Linked DNA regions of Homo sapiens: region 2 is linked to region 1. Evidence: promoter capture Hi-C in human tissues and cell types (Jung and others, 2019). All regions are on one chromosome and are shown on one strand. Each heading gives the region's core, a stretch centred on a gene start or on the middle of the fragment in contact. The rest is flanking DNA. Distances are from core to core; before and after follow the strand shown. Region 1 holds the start of FKBP8 (FKBP prolyl isomerase 8). Region 2 holds the start of RFXANK (regulatory factor X associated ankyrin containing protein).

Evidence for each region. The method cuts DNA at HindIII sites, captures the fragments that hold promoters and counts their contacts. A contact is called where the count stands out against the background at its distance.
Region 2: the fragment with the promoter of RFXANK here is called in contact with the fragment with the promoter of FKBP8 in region 1 in 1 of the 25 tissues and cell types used here (lymphoblastoid cells).

The regions. Positions count from the first base shown.
Region 1 is chr19:18,542,323-18,545,118 of GRCh38, forward strand. It overlaps FKBP8 (FKBP prolyl isomerase 8), which reads right to left and starts at 1,251. Exons shown (of 9, transcript NM_012181.5): 1 at 1,164-1,251. RefSeq lists a silencer at 1,067-1,496. The HindIII fragment of the contact is 12,332 bases long and covers 1-2,796 here.
Region 2 is chr19:19,190,958-19,194,023 of GRCh38, forward strand. RFXANK (regulatory factor X associated ankyrin containing protein) reads left to right here and starts at 1,301. Exons shown (of 10, transcript NM_003721.4): 1 at 1,301-1,597; 2 at 2,003-2,143; 3 at 2,982-3,066. The coding sequence starts at 2,990. It overlaps BORCS8-MEF2B (BORCS8-MEF2B readthrough), which reads right to left and starts at 1,195. Exons shown (of 12, transcript NR_027308.2): 1 at 1,124-1,195. BORCS8 (BLOC-1 related complex subunit 8) reads right to left here and starts at 1,195. Exons shown (of 6, transcript NM_001145784.2): 1 at 1,124-1,195. The coding sequence starts at 1,160. RefSeq lists an enhancer at 2,078-2,167. The HindIII fragment of the contact is 21,341 bases long and covers 1-3,066 here.

The DNA of each region.
Region 1 (2,796 bases), core at 1-2,500:
TGCCCAAGGTCACAGAGAAAGCCAAAGGCCAAAGGAGGATTTGAACCTGGGGCTTCAGGCCCTGTGGCTTTGCCTGATTATAAGCTGAGCGAAGGGTGCTGGGATTTTTGTGGAGAGGACAGCCTCCGAGGCCTTAGGGAAGCCATTTTTAGAGCCTCTAAGGCCACTGGGGGAAATTGAATCTTTTACCAGGGCCTCCCACCTCCAGCCTCTTCTCCAAAGGGGAGACCCTCCCCAAAAGCACCAACTGTAATCACCCAGAAACCCCAAGCGTTTTTTCCTTCCACACTCTGAATCTAACACTATCCCCCACAACCCCAACATCAGGGACCCTGGCCCAAATCCTTCCCCAGGAGACCATCCTCCTCTCATCAGGCCTCGGTCCCACCCCCTCAAAGCAGCCTCCTTTCCAGGAGTGGTCGAGGTCCCACCACATTCTACAGCCTCTTCCTTGCCCCAGACCTCCTGAACCAATAACCAACCCCTCCGTCCCCCAGGCCCCAAGCTCAGAAGAGTGTGGCACAGCCATCAAACCAGCCCGCCGCATCCCCTCCCTAACCCTCACCTGCCTGCTCCTCCCGGGCTCGGAGCCCCACTTTGAGAGACCCTCCCAGCCCCCACCCCCATAATTCCCCGCGCCCGCACAATTCGGCCTCCCCTCCCACCCCCCACCCCAACCACCACCGCCCCCAGCACGGGCCAGCTCCCCCCACAGCCGCTCCGTCTCGCCGTAAACACTCCAGTGTCCCCAGACGCCCCCCCCTTTCCGATCCCATAACACCCCACGCTCTCCTGACGCCCCACAGCCCCGGCCGGGCCCTCAGTCAAGCCGCGACCCAGGCCCCCAACGACCCACGCCTGTCTGACGCCACCAGTCTGGGGCACCCGACCCCCGCACGCCTCGGGCGCCCCTGGCCCTGCACGCCTCCATCGGGACCCCCCCACTGGATCCCCTTTGCCCCCAGTGACCCCCATCCCTGGCCACCCCCGCCCGGCCGCGCCCCCTCGGGCACCCCCGACCCCCGTGCCCCCCCGGCTCGCCACCCCCGCGGCCCCTCGCCCCGCCCATCGGCCGCAGCCCCCGGCGCGCTAGCCCCCGGACCAGCCTAGGCCAGGGCAGCGGCCCGGCCGGCACGGCGCCCCCAGCACCCCAGGACACTTGCCTCTGGCTCCGGGACCCCCACTTGGGGTCCTGCGCCCCCCTCCCCGCCCCCAGCCGCGGCCGCCGCGCCTCGGGAACCAGGTTCGGCCGCTTGGCCCCGCCCCTGCCGTGCCCATTGGCCGCCGCTGCCGCGACTGCCGCACCCGTTGGCTCATGCAGACGTCCGTCCCGGGCGTTGGCACCTCCCCCTTCCTGCTTGGCCCCGCGGGGCGTTCTTAAAGGGACCGAAGCCTCCCGGCTGCTGGGGCTGGGGCGGGGGCTGGGGCGGGGGCTGGGGCGGGGGCTGGGGCGGGGGCGGGGGACCCTGGGCTGGACCCCAACACGGGTCAGTATCGCGCAGCCTGTGCGACTCCTGCCTCTCCTCTGAGCTTCATCCTGACCATCTGCGAAATGGGGATAAACACCCCCATCTATGCACTCTCACCTTGGGGGCTGCTGGGGGCACAGTCCACTCTAAATGTTATTTCCTTAAAGAGTTCAAGCTTGACGGGCAGGGCAGCTCTGGGGTTGCTGAATGACCCATCCTGAAGCCTTAGTTACAGAAGTGAACCTGAGGGCCTGAGGAGGAGTGACGTGCCCAAAGGCATACAGAAACCTCCCTCCCATCCCCCACACAGTTTAATGTCTAGAAGGTTGCCTGGTGCATACTGGAGGCGCTCGATTACTGCTGCGCAGGCGACTGAGCCAGCAGGGCCACTGGGAGGAGTTCCTCCTCTATGCACTGTCTGCTGGAGGGTGATAAGGTCCCCATGGCTCGGGAAGAAGGTGGCATCCTTGATTAGCTAAGTTTTTGTGGATCTTGTTTTGAAACCGGGACACTTCTCCCTCCTTCACTCAGTTTTATTTCCTTCCTAGCAGTTACTCCTTCCAGAATTATCTTGTCATTATTTTGCTTGTGGTTGGAGGGACCATCCCTCACTCTGCTTCATCCTGGCAGAGATTTTTACCTGATTTGTACCCAGCACCTCCTTGAACCATGCCTGGCATCTATAGAAGCTCAATAAATGGGTAGGTGGATGGATGGATGGATGGATGGATGGATGGATGGATGGATGAGTCAGACACCAGCTTTTGGAGGTAGCTATCATGGAGGTGGTAACTGGCTTTTTGGAGATCACTTCTAAGGTTGGAGTTCCCAGGTTACCTCCTACAGGAAGCCCTCCCAACCTCCCCAAGGCAAGACCAGGTGCCCCCTTTAGCTGTCTTGGCACAATGAAGTTGATGAACGTCCACTTCATAACTAGTTTACTTGGGTTTTTTGTTTGTTTGTTTGTTTTTGTTTTTTGAGAAGAAGTTTCACTCTTGTTGCCCAAGCTGGAGTGCAATGGCGCAATCTCAGCTCACCGCAACCGCTGCCTCCCAGGTTCAAGCGATTCTCCTGCCTCAGCCTTCCAAGTAGCTGGGAGTAGAGGCATGCACCACCATGCCTGGCTAACTTTGTATTTTTAGTAGACACGGGATTTCTTCATGTTGGTCAGGCTGGTCTCAAACTCCCGACCTCACGTGATCCGCCCACCTCGATGTACCAAAGATTACAGGCATGAGCCATCGTGCCTGGCCTTTTTTTTTTTTTTCTTTCTCTTTTTTTTTTGAGACAGAGTCTCTCTCTGTCGCCAGGCTGGAGTGCAGTGGCG
Region 2 (3,066 bases), core at 51-2,550, 650 kb after region 1:
AATCTGCCCTACACGAAGCACTTCTTTGAATCCATGTGAATGAAGTGATGTGTAGGCCTGTATTATGTATTCTAGATGTGAGTAATCTAGGGTGATTTAAAGTATAGGGGATTAGCTGGGTGCAGTGGTTCACACCTGTAATCCCAGCACTTTGGGAGGCCAAGGTGGGTGGATCACTCGAGGTCAGGAGTTCGAGACTAGCCTGAGCAACAAGGTGAAACCCCGTCTCTACTAAAAATACAAAAAAATTAGCTGGGCATGGGGGTGTGTGCCTGTAATCCTAGCTACTCAGGGGGCTGAGGTTGCAGTGAGCTGAGATCCCCCCACGGCACTCCAGCCTGGGTGACAGAGCGAGACTCCGTCAAAAAAAAAAAAAATTAAAGAATTAGCCTGATGTGGTGGTGTGCACTTGTAGTCCCAGCTACTGGAGAAGCTGAGGCAAGAGGATCGCCCGCGCCAGAGAGATCGAGGCTACAGTGAGCCATGATCGCGCCACCGCACCCCAGCCTGGGCGACAGTGTGATACCTTGTCTCAAAAAAAAAAAAAAAAAAGGAAACAAGACGCACAGCGATTACTACGCCCCGGGGATTCTTCCAATGCATTACAAATATCAGGTTGTTGAGTTTTTTTTTTTTAGACAGGGTCTCACTTGTCACCCAGGCTGGGGGTGCAGTGGCACGACCGTAGCCCACTGCAGTGCAGCCTTGACCTCCCGGGCTCAAGCAATCCTCCCACCTTAGCCGCCCAAGTAGCTGGGACCACAGGCGTGCGCCACCACGCCCGGCTAATTTTTGTATTTTTTTAGAGACGAGATCTCACTATGTCACCTAGGCTGGTCTCGGGCTCAAGCGATCCTCCCGCCTAGGCCTCCCAAAGTGCTGGGATTACAAAGCCACCACTCCCAGCCTCAGCTACTGAATTCTTGAAACAATCCTGGGGGGACCGGTAATTAAAGCAGACACGGAGCCTTTCTACAGGTTTCAAAACTAGTCAGCGGCAGAGCTGGGATTGGACGGCAGTTCAATCACTGCTCCTCGCACGGTCCCTCCGCGCCCGGCCTTTGTCAGGCCGCCCCTCCACAAGTTACCGGCCCCCTCTGTCCCGCCCGCAGGCCCGCACCACCTTTCTTCCCCTTGAGCTGCATCTCCGGCTCCTCCATAGCGACCGCGGCCGAGCGAACCGGGAAACGGCACCGGAAGCCCGGAGGTTGGGACGCCCGCCTAAGCCTTCCCTGCTGAAACCGGACGCCGCACGGCTCCTGTTCCGGTGTCAGAGGGCCCGCCCTCCCCGCTCCTCAGTCTTTGCGGACAAGAAAGGGGCTGTGTGAGACGCAGGGAAGGAGGCACACCCGGGGGTGGCGCAGTGAGGAGGGGGCGCGACGGCCAGGAGGCTGGTGGAGCGACACCCAGGCAGGAGAGGGGGAAGAACTCTCTCCCTTTCTGAACCCCCTTTTCCTTGAGAGACGAGTTGGGGGAGTCCTCCACGCATTACCCACTCGGGCCGCAAAAACTCCCTTCTTTAGCCCTCTGCCCCCGCCCTTGCTTATAAGCCTTTGAGACCGCAGAAGGGACCTTGTTGTGGAACGGGACGGCCAAGGTACGCTGCCCCTTTAAGTTCCAGACGCCCCGCGTACTTCCCCTACTTCTTCTTCTTGAGATAGCCCCGCCCATCTACCCGAAGCCGGAGCCAATTGGCTCCCTCTGGAAAAATCTGTGGGCAGGGTAAAGGTGAGCGGGCGCAGGCGTAGTGAAATTCTCAGAGCCCTTTAGGCCCCGCCCATTCCCTCCGAGTCGGTGAGGAGGGGAAAAGAAGGCGCAGGCGCAACTGCCCTCCCAGGACCCCAGCGGAACCCACGCCCTCCCCTAAGTCTTAAAGGGCCAGAGGCAGCACTTACTGCCCGGGCCCTTCCTCACTTTTGGGGGGCGGGGGTGCGCAAGCGCAGTGGGGGAGCTCTGGGGTGGGGGTAGCGGTCGAGTATCAAGTTGCTTTCTGTCCCGGCAGAGGAAGCCAGATCGCTGAGGGTCCGGTCTCCAGTTTGCCTCCTGCTATATCCATTGGAAGAGAAAAGTTTGTGACTTGGGCCCCCAAGTTTTGAGAGAACTGGGCTTTCGGCGCGGGGGGACAGAGGAGGCTCGTGGGGAGGTGAGTGGACCTCCTGGATCGATTTAGGAGGCTCGGGTGGGACTGGGACCAATCGCACCTTTGTTGAGCCGTCACTCATTATGGGGAGCCCCTCCCAACAACCATAGCGAATATTTATTGAGCTCCACGCTTAGCAGATCCCCCGATAAGCTATGTACAGACATAATTCGTTGTAGGTCTCATTTCCACATTTTGTCGTGGAGGAAACTGAGGCTCAAAGGTTAAGTCACGTGCCCAAGTTCTCACGGCCTATAAATTGAGGGATTCGAACCCAGACAGCTGACCCCAGAGCCCCGGCTTTTTTTTCCTTTCTTTTTTTTTTTTTTTTTTTTTTTTGAGACAGAGTCTTGCTCTGTCGCCCCAGCTACAGTGCAGTGGTGCGATCTCTGCTCACCGCAACCTCCACCTCCCGAGTTCAAGCAATTCTGCCTCAGCCTCCCGAGTAGCTGGGATCACAGGCGCCCGCCACCGCGCTTGGCTAATTTTTGTATTTTTAGTACAGATGGGGTTTCACCATGGTGGCCAGCCTGGTCTCGAACTCCTGACCTCATGATCCACCCTCCTCGGCCTCCCAAAGTGCTGGGATTACAGCCGTGAGCCACTGTGCCCTGCCAGAGCCCAGGCTCTTAAACATTGCACATTGTAGGTGCTTTGGTGGTGGGGAATGGTAGACCTCGAAAGCAGTTGGACTCTGGTTTTCATTTCCCTGGCTCTGGTAATTAACCTGGACCTCAGTTTACCCACCCTCACAGTGCAAGGCTAGGTATGCAGTCGGTGCCTACTTTATTATAACTGTTGATAATTATTGTCATCTCTCCCCTTCTGACACCTCCGCCAGCTTTCCCCATGGAGCTTACCCAGCCTGCAGAAGACCTCATCCAGACCCAGCAGACCCCTGCCTCAGAACTTGGGGACCCTGAAGA